3 separate regions of the Homo sapiens genome follow, and regions 2 and 3 are each linked to region 1. The links are contacts of gene promoters, found by promoter capture Hi-C in human tissues and cell types (Jung and others, 2019). All regions are on one chromosome and are shown on one strand. The core of a region is centred on a gene start or on the middle of the fragment in contact, and the rest is flanking DNA. Distances in the headings are between cores, read along the strand shown.

What was found. Contacts are between HindIII fragments. The study calls those that stand out against the background at their distance.
Region 2: a contact is called between a fragment that was not itself captured here and the fragment with the promoter of SPATC1L in region 1, in 2 of the 25 tissues and cell types used here (IMR-90 fibroblasts and pancreas).
Region 3: a fragment that was not itself captured here is called in contact with the fragment with the promoter of SPATC1L in region 1 in 2 of the 25 tissues and cell types used here (H1 embryonic stem cells and IMR-90 fibroblasts).

What each region holds. Positions count from the first base shown.
Region 1 is chr21:46,181,534-46,186,077 of GRCh38, forward strand. SPATC1L (spermatogenesis and centriole associated 1 like) reads right to left here and starts at 2,926. Exons shown (of 5, transcript NM_001142854.2): 1 at 2,823-2,926; 2 at 1,091-2,241. The coding sequence starts at 1,283. LOC124905045 (a long non-coding RNA gene) reads left to right here and starts at 3,014. Exons shown (of 2, transcript XR_007067914.1): 1 at 3,014-3,654. RefSeq lists enhancers at 988-1,591, 1,592-2,195. The HindIII fragment of the contact is 12,071 bases long and covers 1-4,544 here.
Region 2 is chr21:46,256,274-46,260,817 of GRCh38, forward strand. MCM3AP (minichromosome maintenance complex component 3 associated protein) reads right to left here. Exons shown (of 28, transcript NM_003906.5): 15 at 4,520-4,544; 16 at 2,666-2,818; 17 at 516-713. Among named protein-coding and RNA genes, the nearest start is that of MCM3AP, 27 kb to the right of the region's middle. The HindIII fragment of the contact is 8,306 bases long and covers 1-4,544 here.
Region 3 is chr21:46,114,276-46,117,661 of GRCh38, forward strand. It overlaps COL6A2 (collagen type VI alpha 2 chain), which reads left to right. Exons shown (of 28, transcript NM_001849.4): 6 at 1,597-1,650; 7 at 1,734-1,778; 8 at 2,102-2,128; 9 at 2,376-2,402; 10 at 2,495-2,539; 11 at 3,125-3,178. Among named protein-coding and RNA genes, the nearest start is that of COL6A2, 18 kb to the left of the region's middle. The HindIII fragment of the contact is 7,903 bases long and covers 1-3,386 here.

The DNA.
Region 1 (4,544 bases), core at 1,676-4,175:
AGTGCCTCCTGCACACTGCGCCTGCTCAGAGTGCACATCTGAGGGTGGTGGCCAGCGTTTGAGAAGGACTCAGGAAGCAACCTCCCCCACCCCCAGCACAGGTGCTGGAGCGGCCCCTTGGTGAGTGGCAGAGCTGGCCTCCCGGGCATGGCTCGTGCTCGCAGACAGCAGTGTTCACGGGCACTGGCGAGGCTGCCTGCTCCATCGTCCAGGACCAGGCAGGCTGACCACGTCCTTTCCGGGCCCGGCCCGGTGGGAAGCTGAGGTTGGCCGTGGGAATCCCAGGCAGTGCTGGGTCAGGGACTCTGTCCTCTGCCCACCATCCCAACAAAAAGTCAAGGGTACATCTGTCAGCCCCACCCCAAATCACATGCAGGAACGGGTAATGTTTTTCCCAAACCTTTTAGAATAAAGCCTACTACTTTGCAGAAAGTGACCAAACCCTATATATATACTTTTTTCAGTAAAAAGCCACAGAAGGTCGGAGTCAATGCTATGTGGTGAGTGGATCATGGCTCCACACTCCCAGCCCCGCAGGGACAGGCGCCCACTTGTCCCTACCTGCTCCCCTGGCCGGTGGCTCTGAGGCCTCCCCAGGGTGGGACCTTCCCACCATGGGGCTGGCCTGGCTCTGGCCGGGGACATGAGTGGATGGGACACAGCACTCATGGGACTCGTGTGGCTGGTCTGACACCCCCCTCGCCCCTGACCCAGGAGAAGAGACACATGCAGCAGAGCAAACTGCCAGCCAGGACCAGCCTGGAAGAGCTGCCTGGGGCCCTGGAGGCCCACAAGCCTGCGCGCCACCTGCTCTACCCCTATGGGGACACTTCCATGACTGCAGCTGACCAGTCCACCTGCCAGCGGTTGACCACTCCCACTTCGCCAGCGACCGAAGGGGAGGGGAGGGGCCTCACCTGAGGGCAACAGCAGAACCCACCACCTGGTCTTGCTTTACTCAGACCTGAGGGTGTGAAAGGTGCCCGTGACCTCCCGCATCAGGGAGCTGGCCGCCACCCTCGACTCCCGGGGAGCAGGCGTCCCGCGACCCCCTCATCTACCAGGCCATCTGAGCTGGGCGGCGCCTCACCTCCGCTCCCGGGGGAGCCGGCCTCAGGGTAGGCATGCGCCCTGGGTGGGAGCAGGTCGTGGCCGCCGCCCTCCTGGCAGCTCTGGCTGAGCAGCCGCCGCAGCATCTGATTCTCCTTCAGGAGGCGCACCTGCTTCTTCAGGTCCGCGTTCTCGCTCAGGAGCCGGCTCATCAGCTCGCCGCCTTCAGCCATGGCGGGTGCGTCCCTCCTTGTCCCTCACGGCTCCTGCAGCCCCATGGAGGTGGGAGCCCAGAGCCCGCAGGCACCACAGAAACAGCCCAGGCACGGAGTTCCGTAGCCACCACCGCCTTCCACGCCTTGTGATGTCACTGCCCTAGTGATGAGGTGCCCAGCACCCTGCCTGCCCCCGCGATGGCTCATGGCCCCGTTGAGGCAGTGAAGCTGGAGGCCCGTGGCGTGCACAGGCAGCCACTCCCACATTATGACCAGGGCCCGAGAATGCCAAGGACATTAGGCAGCTACGGGATGTAGCGACTGTACTCCAAGAGGGGCGTCCAAGCCACTCCCCATTGAGCGGCCCAGCCAGGGTCGGGTGTCCACCCTGTGTGGTGTCCTCAAGCTGGGTGGGGACGCTGCCTTCACCCGAGTAACATGTGGGCTGCACTTCCCATAGGACCTGCCCAGGACACAGGGTTCCCAGTGCAGCTTCCTGTGGACCCTGGCACCCAGGGCAGCAACTGATGTGCAGGTGTTCATCAGGGTCCGTCCTTGGCACCCACACTTGAGGAGGGAGGGACTGGCAAGGGCAGTGGGAGGAGACCAGCATGTGGGGGAGACCAGCCTGGTGGGGAGACCAGCTTGTGGGGGAGACCAGTCTGCGGGGGAGACCAGCCTGGGGAGGAGACCAGCCTGCAGGGGAGACCAGCTTGCGGGGGAGACCAGCCTGCGGGGGAGACCAGCCTGGGCGGGGAGATCAGCCTGGGGGAGGAGACCAGCCTGGTGAGGAGACCAGCCTGGGGGAGGAGACCAGCCTTGTGGGGGAGACCAGCCTGCGGGGGAGACCAGCCTGGGCGGGGAGATCAGCCTGGGGGAGGAGACCAGCCTGGTGAGGAGACCAGCCTGGGGGAGGAGACCAGCTTGCGGGGGAGACCAGCCTGCGGGGGAGACCAGCCTGGGCGGGGAGATCAGCCTGGGGGAGGAGACCAGCCTGGTGAGGAGACCAGCCTGGGGGAGGAGACCAGCTTGCGGGGGAGACCAGCCTGCGGGGGAGACCAGCCTGGGCGGGGAGATCAGCCTGGGGGAGGAGACCAGCCTGGTGAGGAGACCAGCCTGGGGGAGGAGACCAGCCTTGTGGGGGAGACCAGCCTGGGGGAGGAGACCAGTCTTGCGGGGGAGACCAGCCTAGGGTGGGGAGACCAGCCTGAGGCAGCCCCACGATGGCCCCCACATGCTTTGGAGCACTGGGTGGCCCTGAGGGCTGGGCTGGAGGCCACCTACTGACCTCACTCCCTGATGAGAAGGGTCCAGCAGTGCATGTCCACCCCTCAGACCACGAGCGCCCGTGTCTAAGACACCAATTGTTCCTGACTGCACTGCTCCTGCCTGCACGTAACTGAGGACGCCCCCAACCCATGGCCACGGCCCCTCGGGCCGTCACACAGGGCTGCGGCTCATGGGGCCCTGCTAGAGCAGGCGTCTGTCCTCAGTCAGTGCGACCGACTTGAAACCCACCCTGACTCCCTGCTTCAATTACTTGGGAAAGTAAATCACCTCAGTGTTGTTTCTTGGCTCCGAGGGTCTTGTTTTATCAGCAGCCGGGATGCAACAGATGGGTCATCTCATCCTCATGGGAAGGGACGTACGGCAGAAAGCACAACCCAGTGGGCCGGCCACACCTCCAGCCCTGTGACGGGCACCCACCACCACCAACCCAGTGGGCCGGCCACACCTCCAGCCCTGTGACGGGCACCCACCACCACCAACCCAGTGGGCCGGCCACACCTCCAGCCCTGTGACGGGCACCCACCACCACCAACCCAGTGGGCCGGCCACACCTCCAGCCCTGTGACGGGCACCCACCACCACCAACCCAGTGGGCCGGCCACACCTCCAGCCCTGTGATGGGCACCCACCACCACCACCATCCCAGTGGGCCGGCCACACCTCCAGCCCTGTGACGGGCACTCAGGACCACCAAGGGCACTCAGGTGCAGATGCCCCTGGGAGAACACCACCTTCATTCAGCCCGGGCGGCCAGATTAGGGGAAGGTTGCTTCTAGGAGAGAAAGTCTTGAGTCAGGCTTTGTGGAGAAAGGAGGTTTCTACACCCCAAGCGTTCCTGACACAACCCAACCAGCCTGGTGTTGCACCACAGGGCTCACACCTCAGATCAAGACAACGGGGGCCCAGCCACAGCCCACTGACGAGGGCATGCAGGGCGTCCAGGATGCAGGGCAGAGAGAGAAGCGAGGGATGAGTCACGGATGCGCCCCCCGCTCTGAGCCCGACGGGGCCCTGAATGGCTTTTCCTGCCCTGGCTCCTCCCATCATATTTTAAATGCCGTCTTCCTCCCGCTCCAAGGAAACCTTCTCTTGACGTCAGGTACTCTCCAGCCACGGACCTATCAACATTCTGACAGTTTTCTGGTCTTGACACATTATCCTTTTAATATAGCGCTGGATTCAATTTATTAATATTTTAAGTATTTTTATGCTCACAGGGGAAGTCGATCTGAATCTCCTTTTCTTGTGATGTCTCGGTCTGGCTTTGGAACACTGGCCTTTTAAAATGAGCCGCAGAGATTCTGCGCCATTTTCTGGGTGTTCCTTCTTAAACGTCGGATAGAATTCATCTGTGAAGCTATCTAGAACTAGATTTCTTCTGGAAAAGTTTTAAATTTCTAAATCAATTTCTTAAATAGATACAACGCTACTTATATTTTATATTTTTCCCTCATGTGCGTTTTGCTGACAATTGTGGCTGTCAGGTAGTTTGTTGATAATAGGGGAGGCTGTGCATTTGTTGGGGCAGCGAGTGGGGAAATCTCTCTATCTTCCTCTCAATTTTGCTAAGAACCTAAAACTCCTCTTAAAAAAGTCTTGAAAAAGACAAAAGCACGAAGGAAACCAGAGAATATTTCAAGTTGAATGAGAATAAAAACATGACATTAGAATTTGTGGGGTGTAGTTAAAGCTTGATGCCCGTGCTCCACAACCACAGGAAATGGACAAACCCTACCAAAGTTATCAAAAGAGAAGGACACCCCATCTGTAGAAAACAGTCAGAAGATTAGGCAGATGTGGTGGTGCGTGTCTGTTGTCCCAGCTACTCGGAACACTGAGGTGGGAGGATTGCTTGAGCCTGGGAGGTCGAGGCTACAGTGAACTGTGGTTGCGCGGCTGTGCTCTAACTTGCGTGACAAAGTGAGACCCTGTCTCAATAAAATACTTTAATTAATGAAACTGAAACTTTCTGCTCTGCAAAGAATGTCA
Region 2 (4,544 bases), core at 2,045-4,544, 75 kb after region 1:
GGAGTGGCAGGGAGGACCAGGGCCACACCAAGGGGCCTCAAGAGGGAAATAATGGAGGGTGGAGGTGGAGTCTGGAAGATGCTGCCACAGAAAGGGGGCAGTGTGTGAAGGAGACGGCGGGAGGAACAGAGGGATGGGGCGGGGATGGGATCGGAAGACACAGGCCAGCGTGGACCTCCGGCTCCTCCAACAAGGATGGAAGTGGCAGGTACTTAAACTGGGACGAGCAGGAAAAGAACACGTGATGCAGAGTCAGACTCAGGCACCAGGACGCTGAGTCTTTCAAGGTGAACTCAGAGCTCTGCTTTGCCAGTGGAACAAGTCACATGTCCACAACTGTGGGAGACAACCTTCAAAATGCAACCCTGTGCCTGTCCTCGCCTCCAGGCTTCACCTATCTTCGCCTCCAGGCTTCACCTATCTTCACCCTCCAAACACACACATTAATTCCGCTCCTGGTAAAACCAAGTGGGGGCAGGGGAGCCCTGACGAGGCAGGCGACAGCTGATGCTGACCTGGTGCAGGAGATGCCCAATCTCCCTGCATGGCCCAGGTCCAGGAGGCCCCTGGCCAGGTTCTCTTCAGCAATGGGGCACTCTGCGCTGGGCGCCAGCGCCCTCAGCCGGTCGCTCACGTCCACGCAGCAGGGCGCAGCAGGGAAAGCCCGCATTTGGCGCCTCAGTTTCTTGCGGGCTGTGACAGCTTCCCTCCACCTGGGGACATGAAAATGTATCATCACAGAGTGTTTTCAGGGTCTTCAAACTGAGAAACACATTGCAGTCAGAACTCAGGCATGGGGAAGGAAGGACATCAAATGAGTGTGGTGAGCAATGAAACTACCGAACGTTAACAGTTAATACTGAATGAGCTTTGGAGGCTGACTTGGCAATATGGATACAGATTTAAGATACATATACCCAGCTGGGTGCAGTGGCTCACGCCTGTAATCCCAGCACTTTGGGAGGCCAAGGCGGGCGGACTGCCTGAGCTCAAGAGTTCAAGACCAGCCTGCGCAACACAGTGAAACCCAATCTCTACTAAAATACAAAAAATTAGCCGGGCATGGTGGTGGGCGACTGTGGTCCCAGCTACTTGGGAGGCTGAGGCAGGAGAATCCCTTGAACCCAGGAGGTGGAGGTTGCAGTGAGCCGAGATCACACCACTGCACTCCAGGCTGTGTGTACCAGCAAGGCTCCGTCTCAAAAAAAAAAAAAAAAAAAAAAAAAGATACATATATCCCTTGACCCACAGCCACCACTGATAGGAATTTATCTCCACACACGTGCCTGTGTGCAAACGGGTGAGATGTCTGTCTGTACAACAACAGTCACTGCAACAGTCTTTACCAGAGCTAAAAAGAGCTACGTCCAGGCTCGGTGGCTCACGCCTGTAATCCCAGCACTTTGGGAGGCCGAGGCGGGCGGATCACGAGGTCAGGAGTTCGAGAGCAGCCTGGCCAATATGGTGAAACCCCATCTCTACTAAAAATAAAAAAAACAAAATTAGCCGAGCATGGTGGCGCACGCCTGTAGTCCCAGCTACTCAGGAGGCTGAGGCAGAAGAATCACTTGAACCTGGGAGGTGGAGGTTGCAGTGAGCTGTGATTGCGCCACTGCACTCCAGCCTGGGCGACAGAGTGAGACTCCATCTCAAAAAAAAAAAAAAAAAGAGCCACATGAAAGTCCATCAACAGAAGACCAGGAAGGTCATTTATGGTACATTATCGCACTGACCTCAAGACCACTGGCAACGGGGACAGCTCAGCATGCTGCTACAGCCAAGCCTCCACCTCATATCAGATGGAGCAAAGGAAGGCTCAGAGCAAAGCAGGGATCATGAGCCCATCTGTGCCAAGAGCCACAAGAAAGGACAGAAAGTCTCTGGATGGTTTCGCAAGCAGCTGCTGCTCGCACAATGGACAGGGGTCTGTTGTAGAAGGAAGACTCACTTCTCCCCATACTCCCTTTTATACTGTTCCAACTACCAAGGACACTATTACTGATTTTAAATTTTATTATGAAATGAATCATACAACATACGTAACACATATATGCCCAGTTATAAGATTAATAAATCATCAAGCACCTGTGCACTTACACCCAGTTGAGAAGTTGTGGCCATGAGAGGCACCACCTCCCATTCCCAAAAGTAACCACTATGCTGAGATTATGATCATTATTTTCCTTCTTTTCTTTAGGGTTATACCACTATATATAAATCTGAAACAACCTATTTAGTTTGAATATACACTATTTGTATATTCCCTATTAATTGCTTTTTCTCCACTACTTATATTTTGAGAATTCACCCTTATTGGTGCATGCAGCCATAATCTGGCTTGTTCATAGCTGTCTCCCAGCACCTAGTGCAGTGGGCAAATGGCAGGCACCCTATAAATATCAGTTGACATACAGAGTAGCCACCACGTCCCAATCTAACTCCTGACTTTTCCCCTTATATTGTATGTGTGTGTGTGTGTGTGTGTAATCAAGTATTTCTGAAATGCAGTATAATCCAATTAGTCTATTTTAGGTATTCATTGCTATAACATTTTCCCTCATCCTTTTACCACTGAATACAGAAACTAATAGCTCATATATTTTGAATTTGTTAAAAGACTCTTCCCCGTGTGTGTGGATTTTGCCTGTAGGAACACAGGACTCACCGCTGTAGATACTTGCAGAAGCACTGAAGCTCCTGGAGGGTCTCCTTTGCAGTCTGGAAGATTTCCTCCACGAGAAACAAGTCCACTAAGTGGGCACAGACATCCTCACAGCAACGGGCCACACGGACCCTCTGGTCTGTCTCTACTGCATTCCTAGAAACAGGGCAATCAGCATGGAAGACACTGCACTTGGGGCCCACAGACACTGAGGGCTTGCTTGAAAAGTGCAAGAGTCAGTCAGGCGCGGTGGCTCACGCCTGTAATCCCAGCACTTTGGAAGGCCGAAGCGGGTGGATCATGAGGTCAAGAGATCCAGACCATCCTGGCTAACATGGTGAAACCCTGTCTCTACTAAAAATACAAAAAAATTAGCCTGGTGTGGTGGCGGGCGCCTGTAGTCCCAGCTACTCGGGAGGCTGAAGCAGGAGAATGACGTGAAGCCGGGAGGCAGAGCTTGCAGTGAGCAGAGATCGCGCCACTGCACTCCAGCCTGGACGACAGAGCGAGACTCCGTCTCAAAAAAAAAAAAAAAAGAAAAGTGCAAGAGTCGGCCAGGCACAGTGGCTTACACCTGTAATCCTAGCTCTTTGCGAGGCCAAAGCAGGCAAATCACTTCAGGTCAGGAGTTCGAAACCAGCTTGGCCATCATGGTAGAACCCCGTCTCTACTAAAAATACAAAAAATTAGCTGGCGGCCAGGCACGGTGGCTCATGCCTGTAATCCCAGCACTTTGGGAGGCCAGGGCAGGCGGATCACGAGGTCAGGAGATCGAGACTATCCTGGCTAACACGGTGAAACCCCGTCTCTACTAAAAATATGAAAAATTAGCCAGGCATATTGGCAGGCTCCTGTAGTCCCAGCTACTCAGGAGGCTGAGAATGGCGTGAACCCGGGAGGCGGAGCTTGCAGTGAGCCGAGATGGCACCACTGCACTCCAGCTTGGGTAACAGAGTAAAACTCCATTTCAAAAAAAAAAAAAAAAAAAAAATTAGCTGGGCATGGCGGTGCATGCCTGTAATTCCAGCTACTTGGGAGGCTGAGCTAGGAGAATCGCTTGAACCCAGGAGGCAGAGGTTGCAGTGAACCCAGATCACGCCACTGCACTCCAGTGTGGGCGACAGAGCAAGACTCCGTCTTTAAAAAAAAAAAGTGCAAGAGTCTGCATCCTCAGTATTAAAATGTAATTCTATCTTCATTGTAAAAGAAGCTTTAATACTTAAACTACAGACACCTAGAAAGACAGGGTAAAAAGAATTAAGTGGAACAGGGTGCCAAATTATAGGTCCATAGGGGCCCTCGTAACAGTTAAGAAATAAACCTTTATCTTAATAAAATAGTCAGAATTTTTAATTATTTTAGAGACAGGGTCTCACTATGTTGCCCAGGCTGGAGTACAGTGGCCACCACAGGTGCAGTCATAGCACACTACCTGGAACTTCTGAGCTTAAGTGATCTTTGCACCTCAGTCTCTTGAGTTGCTGGGACTACAGGTGCCTGGCGTAGAATTTGTAAATTACCATGCAGACAACCACAAAATCTTCTCATCAGCAACATCTGACTTGTGCAATCAATTGGAAGTGTCTCAAATATATGATAAATGCCAGTGGCTAATAAGGATGGCTGACTATGATCATGTGGTGGCAGCCCTCATATAAAAGAGAATTTTTTATAATAAAATTCTATTAGCCAAGGGAGCACAGAGGACTGCATCAAATACATTTGGTCACAAAATCAAAGTAGCTTAGACAGGCAAGATCCATTTCCAATAGCCCATCCTCAGTGGTGCAAGACACAGCCTAGGGCAGAGCCAAAGCTCACTCTCCTGGCACAGCAAGACACCAGCGTTTCACTTACTTCAACTCCTGGGAGCAGGTTTCCC
Region 3 (3,386 bases), core at 885-3,384, 68 kb before region 1:
TTAGCCGGGCGTAGTGGCATGCGCCTGTAGTCCCAGCTACTCGGGAGGCTGAGGCAGGAGAATCGCTTGAACCTGGGAAGCGGAGGTTGCAGTGAGCAGAGATCACGCCACTGCACTCCAGCCTGGGCAACAGAGTAAGACTCTGTCTCAAAAAAAAAAAAAAAAGAAAAGAAAGCCACATTTAAGGCCAGCTGTATCTCAAATTGTCTCAACACTTCTGTCCCTGGAGAAACTAAAACTCTATATGTCTAATTCCTTTTAAATAGTATATTGAGAAAAGCAGAAGCTTGTAAAAAATGAGATATGCCATTAAAATACTTTGGTAAGCAAGCATATTCAAGTAAGTAAAATGTGAGATGCACTACACTTAATAATATGATTGCTCATTAATATGAAGGAACCTCTTTTGTGGCTTACTAAATAAGCAGTTTTAGGGAGCCTGGTTTGAATGTCCCCTGCATTTTCTGGTTTGAACATCCCCTGCATTTTCCTAACAGAGGTGCATCAAATAAAGTCCTTCCAAAACTCACTAACAGAGTATGTGAAACTCCAACAATTCACATCTGTTAAAAATTATAAAGAAAAGCATAGGAGGAGAAAGTAGCTTCTAAGGAGATGAAATAAGGAATTGACCATCATAGAGGATGTTACTGCTACGTAGCTTCGTGTTTTTCTAAATTTGGATAACAGCTGTCTAGACCAGTAGGTATCTGGATGTACTTTCTCCAGGATGAGACATCTCGAGGCTGCAGGTCAAATCCTGCCATCTCCCTCCCTGGCTTCTCCAGTCCTGGTGGCAATGCCGACCCTACTACAGCTGGGAATGAATTTGCCACTTGGGGCAGCCTTGGCTGCACACAGCAGTGCAGTGACCCGTTCTGTTGGGGGGGCCACTGGAAGCTGCCACAGGGATCACTGTGGTTAGAGTTTGAGGGGTGGCAAGGTGCCAAGCGGAGCCCAGGACAGGGCACAGCTGTGATGTTCCAGAAGCCTCTGCCCACCTCATCCCCTGCCCTGAGTTTCCTCCCTTTTCTTCCTTTTGACCTCTTAATTCTTCCCCTTTCCTCTGCTCCTCTTTGCACTTAAATTGGGAGCATATCAATAAATAGATGAATTTATTTAATAAAGTTCTGTATCATAGGTTAAAATTTTAATTCCAAGAGAGTGTAACCTTTATGTGGTGTTCTGAAGTCCTGATCTGTCTAAAGTTACTTAGATAAAGGAATTAATCTTTGTAGTGACGGTGACCCAGGCATCGCTGGAGAATCAGAGCCCAGTGTTGGCCACAGTCACAGCTACTGGGTGCAGAAGGGACCCCCACGGGCCAGGCACCCCCACCCCAGGGGTCTCTTCTGGCTCCATTTTGCAGGTGGCTTTGTGGGAAGCTTCCCTCAGAGCTGGGAGAAATGGGTCAAAGCAAACCCTTGTCTGACAGAGGCTGGCCCTTTGGGGAGCAGCTGACACCAAGACTTCTCCACTTGGGCAGGGGAATCAGTAACCTCTGCTGTGTCACCTCTCAGAGGAGCTGTGGCAGGGTCCCCAGCTGCCTACCGCCCACCCTACCCTGCCTCGATGTACTCTTTTCTCTGCTTTTAGGGTGCCAAGGGCAACATGGGTGAGCCGGGAGAGCCTGGCCAGAAGGGAAGACAGGTGAGTGTCCTTGCCCCACGCCCGCCCCGCCTGCAGCCCAGCGCCCCAGGGCTGGGCTCACACTGCTGCGTTGTCCTTCACAGGGAGACCCGGGCATCGAAGGCCCCATTGGATTCCCAGGACCCAAGGTGAGTGACCTCGGCCAGGGGCTTGGCTCCACCCTGAGGCCCCAGCACTGCCAGGCAGGCTCCCCCCAGCCCAGCCTCGGCCTCAGCCTCTACGACCCTCCCCCCAGTTACCAAGGAACAGAAGCACCTCGATAACTTGATGGCCGTCCCAAAACCCAGCCTCCAGCCCGACCCAGGGCTCAGCCTCCTCCGCAGACTGTTTGTCGAGAACACTAGATGCCAGCGGCCCACCGAGCACTCCCCTCAGCCTGCAGGGCTGGCCCTTCCCTGCCTGTGTCTCTGCAGAGCTCCTCACTAATGCCCCTCTCTCCTCCTGCCCCCAGGGCGTTCCTGGCTTCAAAGGAGAGAAGGTGAGGCTCTTGCCCTGACAGACCTCAGACCTGCGCCAGCCTCGGCCCAGACCCACCTCTTGGCGTCCGCCGCAGCCTGTCACTGCTCCTGGGGCACCGGCCTGGTCTTTTCTCAGTGGTGGCTTTGGGGGCTCCTGGGGGGTCCTGTGGCCTTGAGTTTGGCCCAAGGGCTTTGCCCCCCAGAGGCAGCAGTGCCCATGATGCTTTGAGGCACCGAGCTCACTGCGCCGGCTTTCCTCCTACACAGGGTGAATTTGGAGCCGACGGTCGCAAGGTAGGCTGGCTGGGTAGGCAGAGCCCCTCCTTCCTGCTGCTCAGGGCAGAAGGACCGGGGCTAATGGAGTTCCCTCTTCCTTCTCTCTTCAGGGGGCCCCTGGCCTGGCTGGCAAGAACGGGACCGATGGACAGAAGGTAGAGGGAGCCTCGGGCTCACAGCTGGACTGGTCTCACAGAGGCATCCCAGCCTCTGCAGGGCCCCCAGATCCAGCCTGATCTGTCAGCTTACACATGTGTACACACGCATACACACACACACACACACACACACACACACGAACTTCAGCTCCTGCCACATCCCACTGCCCCACCCAGGGCTTCACCAGCCTGCATCTAATTCATGGCTGCACATCCCGGCTTGGGGCAGCTCCACAGCTGCACACAGAGGCCAGCAACAAGCCTACCCACTCCCAGGTCAAACCACAGGACAGCCCCACCCACTCCTTCCATGGCTCCCCGTGGGAACATCCTCTGTGCCCAGGGAGCTCTGCCCTCAGGGCCTCTGGGAGGCAGCCAGGGATGGCCTGTTCCTGCACAACGGCCACTCTGCCTCCCCGGAGACAGCTCCACAGCAGCCGTGGCCTCATGTGGGCACCCGTGTGCCAGGAGGAGAGCGCTGCAGCCCTGCGGGGCAGAACCGGGTGGGCTGTGTCTTGGTCGTTGGCACACATGGACCCCAGAACCCCGCCCTGAGACTCCTCCTGCCCCCTTCTCCTTCAGGGCAAGCTGGGGCGCATCGGACCTCCTGGCTGCAAGGGAGACCCTGGAAACCGGGTAAGGGCCGTTTGCACCCCTCCTTCAGCCTCGGCCCAGGGGGTGTGGGTGCCTGACCGGGTGGGAGGGTAGTTGCTGCTGCAGTGGGAGCGTGGGTTCTCCCGGCAGCCCAGCAGCCCCAGCCCAGCAGCCCCAGCCCAGCATTCTGCCGGGTCGGAGTCATGTGAGGAACTCCCCCTGGGAGCTCCTGGCGGATCCCCGTGGCCTG